Linked DNA regions of Homo sapiens: region 1 is linked to region 2. The links are contacts of gene promoters, found by promoter capture Hi-C in blood cells and fetal thymus (Javierre and others, 2016). All regions are on one chromosome and are shown on one strand. Each heading gives the region's core, a stretch centred on a gene start or on the middle of the fragment in contact. The rest is flanking DNA. Distances are from core to core; before and after follow the strand shown.

The links. Contacts are between HindIII fragments. The CHiCAGO score rates a contact against its expected background, and 5 or more counts as called.
Region 1: a contact is called between a fragment that was not itself captured here and the fragment with the promoter of NEUROD2 in region 2, in 1 of 17 cell types (naive B cells). The highest score is 5.2, in naive B cells.

The regions. Positions count from the first base shown.
Region 1 is chr17:39,984,624-39,990,334 of GRCh38, reverse strand. It overlaps PSMD3 (proteasome 26S subunit, non-ATPase 3), which reads right to left. Exons shown (of 12, transcript NM_002809.4): 3 at 3,623-3,760; 4 at 1,516-1,652; 5 at 406-596; 6 at 138-241. It overlaps LOC124904000 (a long non-coding RNA gene), which reads left to right. Exons shown (of 3, transcript XR_007065751.1): 2 at 1,440-1,741; 3 at 3,553-3,637. Among named protein-coding and RNA genes, the nearest start is that of PSMD3, 6.7 kb to the right of the region's middle. The HindIII fragment of the contact is 2,588 bases long and covers 599-3,186 here.
Region 2 is chr17:39,604,379-39,609,965 of GRCh38, reverse strand. NEUROD2 (neuronal differentiation 2) reads left to right here and starts at 2,046. Exons shown (of 2, transcript NM_006160.4): 1 at 2,046-2,238; 2 at 3,362-5,587. The coding sequence starts at 3,367. The coding sequence ends at 4,515. The HindIII fragment of the contact is 7,147 bases long and covers 1-3,728 here.

The DNA of each region.
Region 1 (5,711 bases), core at 643-3,142, 380 kb before region 2:
TCCCAGCACTTTGGGAAGCTGAGGTGGGAGGACTTCTTGAACCCAGGAGTTCAAGACCAGCCCAGGTAACATAGCAAGACACCATTTAAAAAAAAAAAAAAAAAAGAGGCAAAGGGATGATGGTAGTTGTGGCTCACCGTCTGTTTGAAGCCGACAGCTGTGTGCTGAGGGGCCTTGCGAAGGGCGTTGGTCATCGTTCTCCGGGCCTCTGAGTACTCCAGCTGGATGGCTTTGATTCGCCCTGGGAGTGGAGGAGAGGAGAGTTGGTCAACAGAGTAGGGTCATCCAACTCCCCACCGACAAGCCAGGGTGCCAAATGGGCCTCTTATGCACCACCCCTTGGAAAATTTGCACCAGGCAGGCCTGAGACACCTTCTGATTTATGGGTTGGGCCCCTCTGCTCACCTGTGTAGTAGAGGTACCTGGCCCACTCATTGTTGTTGGCCTGCTCTGGGAACACAGACTTGGACACCAGCTTCTCAGCCTGGTCGTACAAGCTGTAGTGTAGGTAATTCCGCAGCAGGAGGTTCAACAGGGTGGCCTGCCCGTCTGCGTCATGCCGAAGCGTAGCTGTCCGGAGCCGAGCATGCAAGAAGCTTCAAGAAGGAAAGAAAGATGTCAAAGCCTTCAAATCACAACTCTCTGAACTGCCTTTAACTCTTCGCTCTTTCTCAATTCCTTAAAAAAGTTATACAAATTGCTTTTCTGGTTATTTGCTGAATACTGTTAACTATCGAGTGCCTAAGGTGTACAGCACTATTCTGGGTGCGACAAAGGGACAAAACCCTGCCCTTAGGGAATGCAGTGCAGTGGGGGAGGCAATGGTCATGAGAAAGAAGCACAGCCTGCAGTGTGACAGAAGATGGGAGGCCTGTGAGGCCAGGGGAACTGCAATGGGGAATGCAGGACGTGAGAAAGATGAGTTGAACTTTTCAATAGCTTGGCCAAGGCAGGACTCACTGAGAAGGGATCAGTTAAGGGAAGGCTTGAAGGAGGCGGAGAGAAGAGTGTTCTGGACAGAGGGGCAGCCAGTGCAAAGGCTCTGAAGAAGAGTGTGCCGGGCACACCAGAGGAAAGGCAGGCCAGTGGGGCTGAGGAGCAGGAGGAGGTGAAGTCTGGGAGGTCAAAATGGAGCAGATCACGTCAGGCCTTATGAGGTATTGTAAGGACTTTGTCTTTCCTTGAGACGGGAAGCCACTGCAGGTTTTGAGCAAAGAAGTAAAATGTTTTCTAGCCTGTCCCTCCACCCCTAACCCACCCTCAGTCCTACCTTGATGTGGGGTGAAGGGAAGAACCTGGGGACAGTTCTTTACAGCCCAGCAGTGACCCACTTCTTCATCTAGCACCAGTCTCTCTCCCACACCCCTCACGTGGCGCAGGGCATGGGAACCACTGCCCCTCTTCCCTGCTTACATCTACAGGTTCTTCGCCCTCTGCAGATCCACAGCTGTGTGCTTGTGACTGACCAAGTCTCTGACCCCACGGACCCCAAGTGAGATGCTTGGCTGCCTGTACCTGCGCACCACATCCAGCTTGTCCAGGAACTCATAGACCCGGGCGTGATAATAGTAACACTTTGCGGCTACAAGGTCTAGGGCCCGGCGGTTCTGAGTACTGATCTTCTGCATCAGATCATCAGAGATCTTCTGTGCCTGGGGAGGAAGCCAAAAGAGAATCAAGTGGCAGTTCCTCAAAAGGATAAACATGGAGTTGTCATTTGAGCCAGCAATTCCTATCCTAGGTATGCAAGCCAAGAGAACTGGAAACTTAGGCTCACATAAAAGCATGTACACGAATGTTCACAGAAGCATTATTCATAACCAAAGAGTAGAAACAACCCAGGTGCCCGTCAGCTGATGAACAGATAAACAAAATGTGGCACATCCACACGAGGGAATATTACTCAGCCTTAAAAAGGAAGGAAGTACTGACACACACTACAACATGGGTCAACCTTGAAAACATGATGCTAAGTGAAAAAAGCCAGAAACCAAGGGCACACGGTGTGTAATTCCATTTACATGAAATGTCCAGAGTAAGTAAATCCTCAATAGAGACAGGGCAGATTAGTAGCGGCCAGGGGCTGGGTAAGGGGAAAATGAAAAGTGACTACTAATACGTATGGTGTTTCTTTGTGGGGTGATGAAAATGTTCTGGAATTAGGGGTGGATATACAACTTTGGGAATATACTAAAACCCACTCAATTGTAGTATACTTTATTTATTTGTTTGACGGAGTCTCGCTCTGTCACCAGGCTGGAGTGCAGTGGCACAATCCCGGCTCACCACAACCTCCGCCTCCCTGGTTCAAGCAATTCCCCTGCCTCAGCCTTCTGAGTAGCTGGGTCTACAGGCACACACCACCACGCCCGGCTAATTTTTTGTATTTTTAGTAAAGACAGGGTTTCACCATGTTGGCCAGGATGGTCTTGATTGTCTGACCTCATGATCTGCCTGCCTTGGCCTCCCAAGGTGCTGGGATTACAGGCGTGAGCCACCATACCTGGCCTGTAGTACACTTTAAAGGGGTGAATTATATCTCAAAAACAAACAGCCAAGTACAGTGGCACGTGCCTGTAATCCCAGCTACATGAGAGGCTGAGGCGGGAGGACTACCTGAGCCCAGGAGTTCAAGACCAGCTTGGTTAACATAGCAAGACCCCATCTCCAGTAAAAACAAAACAGTGGGCCAGGCGCAGTGGCTCATGCCTGTAACCCTAACACTTTGGGAGGCTGAGCCCAGGAAATCACTTGAGCCCAGGGGTTGGAGACCAGCTTGGCAAGAAGGTGAAATCCTGTCTCTACAAAAAAAATGCAAAGATTAGCTGGGCGTGGTGGCACATGCCTGTAGTCCCAGCTACCCAAGAAGCTGAGGTGGAAGGATCACTTAAGCCGGGGAGGTCAAGTGAACTGTGATCACACCACTGCCCTCCAGCATGGGCAACAAAGCAAGACCCAATCTCAAAAAAACCCCCAACCAAACAACAACCAAAAATAGTGTGGTAAGGAAAGGAAACAAACCAGGGAATTAAGGAGTGCGACTTACTTCCTGAGTGTGCTCCTGTGACAGTGGCTATGATGAACAAAGAAGCTGGCCCTAGCTGGGGGAGTGGTAGAAGTGCAGTTTGCAAATGGAGCTATTAGTCCATAATAACAGCTACCATTTATGAAAATATCACGAAAGCTTACTATATGCAGATCATTGCGCTAAGTATTTCTAAACAAATTATTTTATGTAACGCTAACCATCTTGTAAGGTAGGCACTATTATCCCCATCTTACATATAGCTGGGAGAAATTAATTTGCCTAGGGTATGGCTGGGATTGGAACCCAGGTCTTTCTGTCTCCAAATGCCCCTACTTTTCCCCAAGAATGTACTACGCTGGTATCCCCCACAGACCGGTACAGCATGACCACTGCAAGCCCTGTCCCACAGTGCCCAGAGCAAGAGTGGGTTCTCCTGGGATGTGGGATCAAACGCATACCTCTATGGGGAAAGAGTGTGGGGGACAGTTCTTAAGAATCAATGATTATTTCCATTTCTTCACCAGGGACCATCTCCCCGCCAAACCCCTTGCATCACTTGGGGCTTATGAATCGCTCTCACTGCATCCTGGATACCTCTTTGTAGCGCTTGCTGTTCATCATGAAGATGACCACGAGGAGTTGGAGATAGGCTTCCACTTCAGGCAGGAGGGGTGTCGACGCAGCTTTTCCCGTGCGGGGACGGAACTGTAAATCAGCCTCTGTGTCCATGGGCTAGGAGAGGACAGAAGTTACCATGGAAAAGCTCAGTCTGATCAAGTAACCAAGAATTTATTGAGCATCCACTATGTATTTCAACATATTTATTGAGTGTCTACCATGTGCCAAGATTTTGTTAGGTGCTAGGGATAAAAAAATAAAGATTACAGTCTTTCCCAAAGAAATCAAGGAGGAGCTGGGTGTGGTGGCTCACGCCGGTAGTGCCAGCTACCTGGAAGGCTGAGGCAGGAGAATGCTTGAGGCCAGGAATTTGAGACCAGTCTGGGCAACACAGTGAGACCCCATCTCTCAAAAAATAAAAAAGAACTAGCCAGGCATGGTGGCATGCACCTGTATTCCCAGCTACTCAGGAGGCTGAGGCAGGAGGACTGCTTGATACCAGGAGTCTGAGCCTGCACTGGGCCATAAGTGTGCCACCGTGCTTCAGCCTGGGTGACAGAGCAAGACCCCATCTCAAAAAAACAAAACAAGTCAAGGAGGCTGGCAATATAATATTAATAAACACAATAAAGTGTTACAGGAGAACAAAAAATTTCTTTACACAACATAATGGAGACAAAGGACGATGTAAGGAACCTTCAAAGAGGCTACAACCTAAGTGGAGACATTAAACCACCACACCTGGATCCACTGCAAATACTACTGGACAGGGCTGAACGAAATAATTCTAGAGATGAAATCAGAATAATGAGACCAAAAAATGGTTTCTTGTGGGAACAAAGAAAATTTAGGGAAAGTCAACATATAAACAAAACATATTTTCCTATGTTGTCACTGACACTGGAAAAAATAATGTGTTACAGTCACCCCCAAAATAATCACGTTTCGTGAGTTTAGCGATGTGAAGGTCAGAAAATATTCAAGGTGGAGTTGGGGGAACAGTACGCTTTTCCCCTTTCCCAGACAAGAAACTCTTCACTGCCCTGCCTCCAGGGATGTTCTGAGTTTCCCCATCCACGGAGCTGACTGAGTATACAGGATTTTAAGGAAATGCAGGTGCTGGAAGGTCAGTGGAATTGGAGAAGGCTGAGACCTGGCCCATGCCATGAATCATGAGGGAGAGTTTACAGCTACAGAGGATAAGGAGAGGTCTCTCCTGGCACGGAGGCGCCACCACCACCACCAAACTGACTTCGTCTGCATTCACTACGTACCAGGCACTGCTCTAGGAGCTTTATACTGCCCGCTTCCCAATCCGTTCATCACGTTTAACAAATGAAGAAAACGAGGCACAGCAAAATGAAGTCACTCGCCCAAGTCCCACAGGTACTAACTGTCAGGGTTTGGATTCAAATTCAACTCTACCTCTAAAATCTGTGGGGTTTTTTTTGTTTTGTTTTGAGGTAGGGGGGTCACCCTGTCACCTAGGCTAGAGTGCAGTGGTGCAATCTTGGTTCACTGCAATCTCCACCTCCTGCATTCAAGTGATCCTCCTGCCTCAGCCTCCCGAGTAGCTGGGACTACAGGCAGGTGCCACCATGCCTGGCTAATTTTTGTACTTTTTGCAGAGACAGGGTCTCACCATGTCGCCCAGGCTGGTCTCAAACTCCTGGGCGGGCAGATTGTTTGAATCCAGGCTGGACTCAAACGATCTGCTCGCCTCAGCCTCCCAAAGTGCTGGGATGACGATGTTAGCCACTGTGCCCGCCTCAGCCTCCCAAAGTGCTGGGAAGACAGGTGTGAGCCACTGTGCCTGGCCCTGACAGCTGTGCTCCTCCTAACCACTGTTCTCTACCTCCTCCATGGTGAAGCTTCAGAAGAAAGAGGCAGCAGCACCTTCTCTCTCCTAGAACAACAGAGAGGTCACCCAACGCAACCTCAACTGGAGTAGGGGGTACAGGTTGCAGGGTAGTGGGAAATGAGTTTGGCTGGGAGGGTCCTGATCCCCTGACTTTGAAGAATGACACTACAGGGCAGTGGACGGTTCCCTTGTCACTGTGCAGAT
Region 2 (5,587 bases), core at 797-3,296:
GCCCATCCTTTGGCCTCTTTCTCTGCCATGCCCAGAATCTCCCCACCACGACTATCTGCCAGAGATGGGATTCGCCTTGCAGACCCAGGATTCGTGAATGAAGGGAAGCATGGTAGGCTTATTTTTAGAGACCACTGAGGCAGATTGTGGGCTTATAAGTGGAGTACTGGTCTGTGGGTCAAGTGCCTGAATTCTAGGCCCAGTTCTGTGTTTCCCCTGTGTGTTCCTAGGCAGGTCAGTTTCCCTCCATGGGCCTCTGTAAGATGAGGAGTTGGAGAGGTACATTCTCAGGCTACTTTCAACTCCCAGCCAAGTGACTCAAGAGTCCCAGGCAGCACCAGCACCCCTATCTCCAAGGCCTCCTGATGTGTGTCTCTATTTAGAACTTAATCCAACCTACCCAACATCAGATCAGTGTCTTACCAGCCCAAGGTCCCTGGGGAGCCTCCTAGAGGGAGAGAGCCCTGCCCACCCAGATTGAGGGTAAAGGCCTCCCCGTGCTCATTTTTGTACCACCACAGTGCTTGGCACATGGTAGACATCAAAATGTGTGTGCTGAAAGTATAATTGAAGTTGTGTATATATGTCAGCTAGAGTGTCTGGAGGGGCAGAAATGTGGGTCTAAAACATACAAATGCTCCAAATGGGGTGTGGGCAAGGGTCTGTCTACACCAGGCTGTGATTACCTGCTCACATACATGTGTCTATCTGAGTAGGGGTATGTTATCTATTTTTCTACACCACAGGGTGAGGAACAGGTATATGTGTGCATGTGTATGCATCCGTGTGTGTGTGTATGTGTGTGTGCATGAGTGTGTGTGTGTGTGTCCAAAGCCACCTCTTCAACCTGTGCCATTTGTATCTGTGTCTGGCCCAATGAGAGTGTTGAAAGGTGAGCCACAAGATAAAACAGCAACTTCCTACCTCCCTTATCAAGACAGCTGTCTGACCTACCTCCCCTTGGCCACTCTTGGGATTACTGGGGTTGGCTTCAGTATTTTCAGATTTTTCAGAAGGGGAGGAGAATGCTTGAGTCTCATCCAGGAACTTAGGCAGTTCTCAGCACTGCCTGCTCCTCCTCCCTCAAATAACCAAGTCTGAAGACCAGGAGAGAAAGCCGCTGGTGGACTGGTCACCTGTCTGGCAGTGGGAGGAGGAGAGTGAGAGGTTTCTAGGTTAGGAATCCAGACTTAGACCCTCCCCTCCACCCCCAGATGGGTGGTGCACAGGCTCATCTCGCGGCCCCTCCCCACTCCACCCTAACATGGATACGCCCCCAACAACCAAGGAAAGATCTCCCATCGGCTGACTCCACAGATACACACATGTCCCCACAGACACACACACGCCCATGCAGAGGCACAGACATCCAGGCACATCTTTCCCTTTCTCTGTCTTTCCCTTGGTTTGAATTTCGTTTAGCCACATATGTTGTGTGTGCGTGAGGGTGGGTGGGGGAGGGGCAGACAGGGATGAGGGATGGCATGGTGCCAACATCTACCTATGGGGCTCGGGCCAGGGACGCCCCTTACAGCCATCCTGGGAGGGGGTCTCAGCTGTCCCTTTGTGGCCAAGGGGACCCTCCTGGGGAGTGGGGGCAAGCACAGAGGTCCTTTCTCCCCAACCCGGGGTCTGGTCCCTGACCCACCTTGGGGGCCTGCAGGGGAGGAAATGGACAGAGCGGGACCCTGAGGGAGCATAGAATTGGCCACCACGAGCCCCCAGTGTCCAGCCTTGCCACCCCATTGTTCCCGTGAGGGGGTCTCTATATACAGGGGGCAACTCCTCCCACCTTCCTCTCAATCCCTGCTTTCCCTGCGTTGGGCGGGGAGGGGAGGGCGGCAGAAATATTTATTTATTTCCTTTATTTATTTAATTTTTTTTTTTTTTTTTGGAGTAGAGAGTGACAGATGGCGGCGGGTCCCGGGGGAGCCGGCTCTCCCCCAGTGCAGACGCATGCCAATCACCGTCTCTCATGTGATAGCTGCTGCCCGTGACGTGCCAAGCCCATATGGCCTGGCATAGAGGCTGGTACCCCGCCTGGTAGAGATGCCACACTCGCTCCGCGGTTCGCATGGCGCTCTGAAGACGCCGGCGCCCGCCGCCTTGAGGAGCCGCTGCCCCCGCTCCCTGAAGATGGGGGAACAATGAAATAAGCGAGAAGATCCCTCTTCTCCCCCCTCTCTCTCTTGCCCCCTCCCCCCCTCCCCTCCCCTCTCCCCTTGACTCCTCTCCGAGGTAAGTTGTCCGAAAGGGAGCGAGATCTGACCCGCCGGTTGGGAGGAGGGGCGGCAGCTTCGGCCGACAGGAGGGTCCTCAAATACCTCCTTCCTGGGATGATGCCCCCCTCATTGGGTGGGCATCGGAGGGGCCCCAGGTTCTCTCTCCCTTAGGGGCTGCAGCCCAGGGGGCTGCAGAGGAGGTGTCTCTGCCTGCGATGGGCTCGGTGGGGGGGGAAGGCAGGATCACGGAGGGGGATATGCGAAGAGGCCGAGACGGAGGACCCCTCCATGGTTGTCCCAAAAAGCCTGCCACCTTTCCCCACCACCGAAAAAAGGGAAGCAAACAAACAAATTTGGATTTTTCCCCCATCAATCCCAAAATACAACGAGATCTGAAGAGCCTTGTGGGAGGGAGTCAGCTTGAAGGGGGAAGGGGGTCCCTGACCGCAGAGGGGACGGACTGGGCTCGCTTCTCTCAGTCTCCTCCCCACGCCCCGCTGCTTCAGTCCTCGCCGCCCAGAGCCGGCTCCGGGAGCTGGGGACGCATCGGCTAGAGGAGACGATCCTCCCGCCTCTGGAATTGGGGGTGCGGGGGTGGGGGCCGAGCAAGGGGCGGCGCGCAGCCAAGTTGCAAATTGGATTAGGGAGCGTGGGGGTGAGAGCCACGGGAGGGGTGAGGGAGCTGGGCCGGGGGGCCCGGGCCGCGAGAGCGCGGAGCGGGGCAGCTGTCCCCACCGGCGGCCGACCAGCCTCTCTCCACCGCCAGGAGAGAACGGGCTTTCAGGGCGAGCGCGCCGCCTCCCCTGGCAAAGATATCTGGTCCCTAAAACCCCCACCCGGTCCCTGCCCTGACCCTGAGAAGAAGCAGGCGCGGGGAGCAGCCCCCCATTCAAGCGAGGGGCGGAGCCGGGGCCCAGCGCCGGGGAGAGGGCCTGGGCCGAGATCCCAGGCCGGCAGCCGGGTAGGGCTGGGCCGGCTCTGGGCGGGGCAGGCGGCGGAGGTGGGCATCCAGGGTAGCCTAGGCAGGAGCCCGCACGAGACTCGGGGGTGGAGGAGGGTTGTGGGGGGGCGTCGGTACCCCAGCGCGCCCCTCACTTTGTGCTGTCTGTCTCCCCTTCCCGCCCGCGGGGCGCCCTCAGGCACCATGCTGACCCGCCTGTTCAGCGAGCCCGGCCTTCTCTCGGACGTGCCCAAGTTCGCCAGCTGGGGCGACGGCGAAGACGACGAGCCGAGGAGCGACAAGGGCGACGCGCCGCCACCGCCACCGCCTGCGCCCGGGCCAGGGGCTCCGGGGCCAGCCCGGGCGGCCAAGCCAGTCCCTCTCCGTGGAGAAGAGGGGACGGAGGCCACGTTGGCCGAGGTCAAGGAGGAAGGCGAGCTGGGGGGAGAGGAGGAGGAGGAAGAGGAGGAGGAAGAAGGACTGGACGAGGCGGAGGGCGAGCGGCCCAAGAAGCGCGGGCCCAAGAAGCGCAAGATGACCAAGGCGCGCTTGGAGCGCTCCAAGCTTCGGCGGCAGAAGGCGAACGCGCGGGAGCGCAACCGCATGCACGACCTGAACGCAGCCCTGGACAACCTGCGCAAGGTGGTGCCCTGCTACTCCAAGACGCAGAAGCTGTCCAAGATCGAGACGCTGCGCCTAGCCAAGAACTATATCTGGGCGCTCTCGGAGATCCTGCGCTCCGGCAAGCGGCCAGACCTAGTGTCCTACGTGCAGACTCTGTGCAAGGGTCTGTCGCAGCCCACCACCAATCTGGTGGCCGGCTGTCTGCAGCTCAACTCTCGCAACTTCCTCACGGAGCAAGGCGCCGACGGTGCCGGCCGCTTCCACGGCTCGGGCGGCCCGTTCGCCATGCACCCCTACCCGTACCCGTGCTCGCGCCTGGCGGGCGCACAGTGCCAGGCGGCCGGCGGCCTGGGCGGCGGCGCGGCGCACGCCCTGCGGACCCACGGCTACTGCGCCGCCTACGAGACGCTGTATGCGGCGGCAGGCGGTGGCGGCGCGAGCCCGGACTACAACAGCTCCGAGTACGAGGGCCCGCTCAGCCCCCCGCTCTGTCTCAATGGCAACTTCTCACTCAAGCAGGACTCCTCGCCCGACCACGAGAAAAGCTACCACTACTCTATGCACTACTCGGCGCTGCCCGGTTCGCGGCCCACGGGCCACGGGCTAGTCTTCGGCTCGTCGGCTGTGCGCGGGGGCGTCCACTCGGAGAATCTCTTGTCTTACGATATGCACCTTCACCACGACCGGGGCCCCATGTACGAGGAGCTCAATGCGTTTTTTCATAACTGAGACTTCGCGCCGGCTCCCTTCTTTTTCTTTTGCCTTTGCCCGCCCCCCTGTCCCCAGCCCCCAGAGCGCAGGGACACCCCCATCCTACCCCGGCGCCGGGCGCGGGGAGCGGGCCACCGGTCCTGCCGCTCTCCTGGGGCAGCGCAGTCCTGTTACCTGTGGGTGGCCTGTCCCAGGGGCCTCGCTTCCCCCAGGGGACTCGCCTTCTCTCTCCCCAAGGGGTTCCCTCCTCCTCTCTCCCAAGGAGTGCTTCTCCAGGGACCTCTCTCCGGGGGCTCCCTGGAGGCACCCCTCCCCCATTCCCAATATCTTCGCTGAGGTTTCCTCCTCCCCCTCCTCCCTGCAGGCCCAAGGCGTTGGTAAGGGGGCAGCTGAGCAATGGAACGCGTTTCCCCCTCTCATTATTATTTTAAAAACAGACACCCAGCTGCCGAGGCAAAAAGGAGCCAGGCGCTCCCTCTTTCTTGAAGAGGGTAGAAGTTAGGGCGCCGGAGCCCGGGCCTGGAACGCCCTCACCCCCAACCTCCAGTCTCCGCGTTTTGCGATTTTAATTTTGGCGGGAGGGGAAGTGGATTGAGAGGAAAGAGAGAGGCCAAGACAATTTGTAACTAGAATCCGTTTTTCCCTTTTCCTTTTTTTAAACAAACAAACATACAAAAAAAAAAAAAAAAAAAAAAAAAAAAAAAAAAAAAAAAGCTAAGAGGCGACGGAAGCCGAACGCAGAGTCCGGATCGGAGAGAAAACGCAGTAAGGACTTTTAGAAGCAATAAAAGGCAAAAAAAACAAAAAACAAAAAAACAAACAAAAAAAAACCACTACTACCAATAATCAAAGACACAAATATCTATGCAAGGAGGCTCCACTGAGCCTCGCGGCCCGGCCCGGCCCCGGGATGCCCCGCCCGGCCTGCGGGCCGCCCCGCCCGAGCGCGGATCTGTGCACTTTGGTGAAGTGGGGGCCCGCGCCGCCCCCTCCCCCTCCCCAGGTTCTTACAATCAGTGACTCGGAGATTTGGGGCCCCAGTGCCACTGCCCTCCCCCGCCCCGTCCCCGTTGTGCGTCATGCTGTTTTT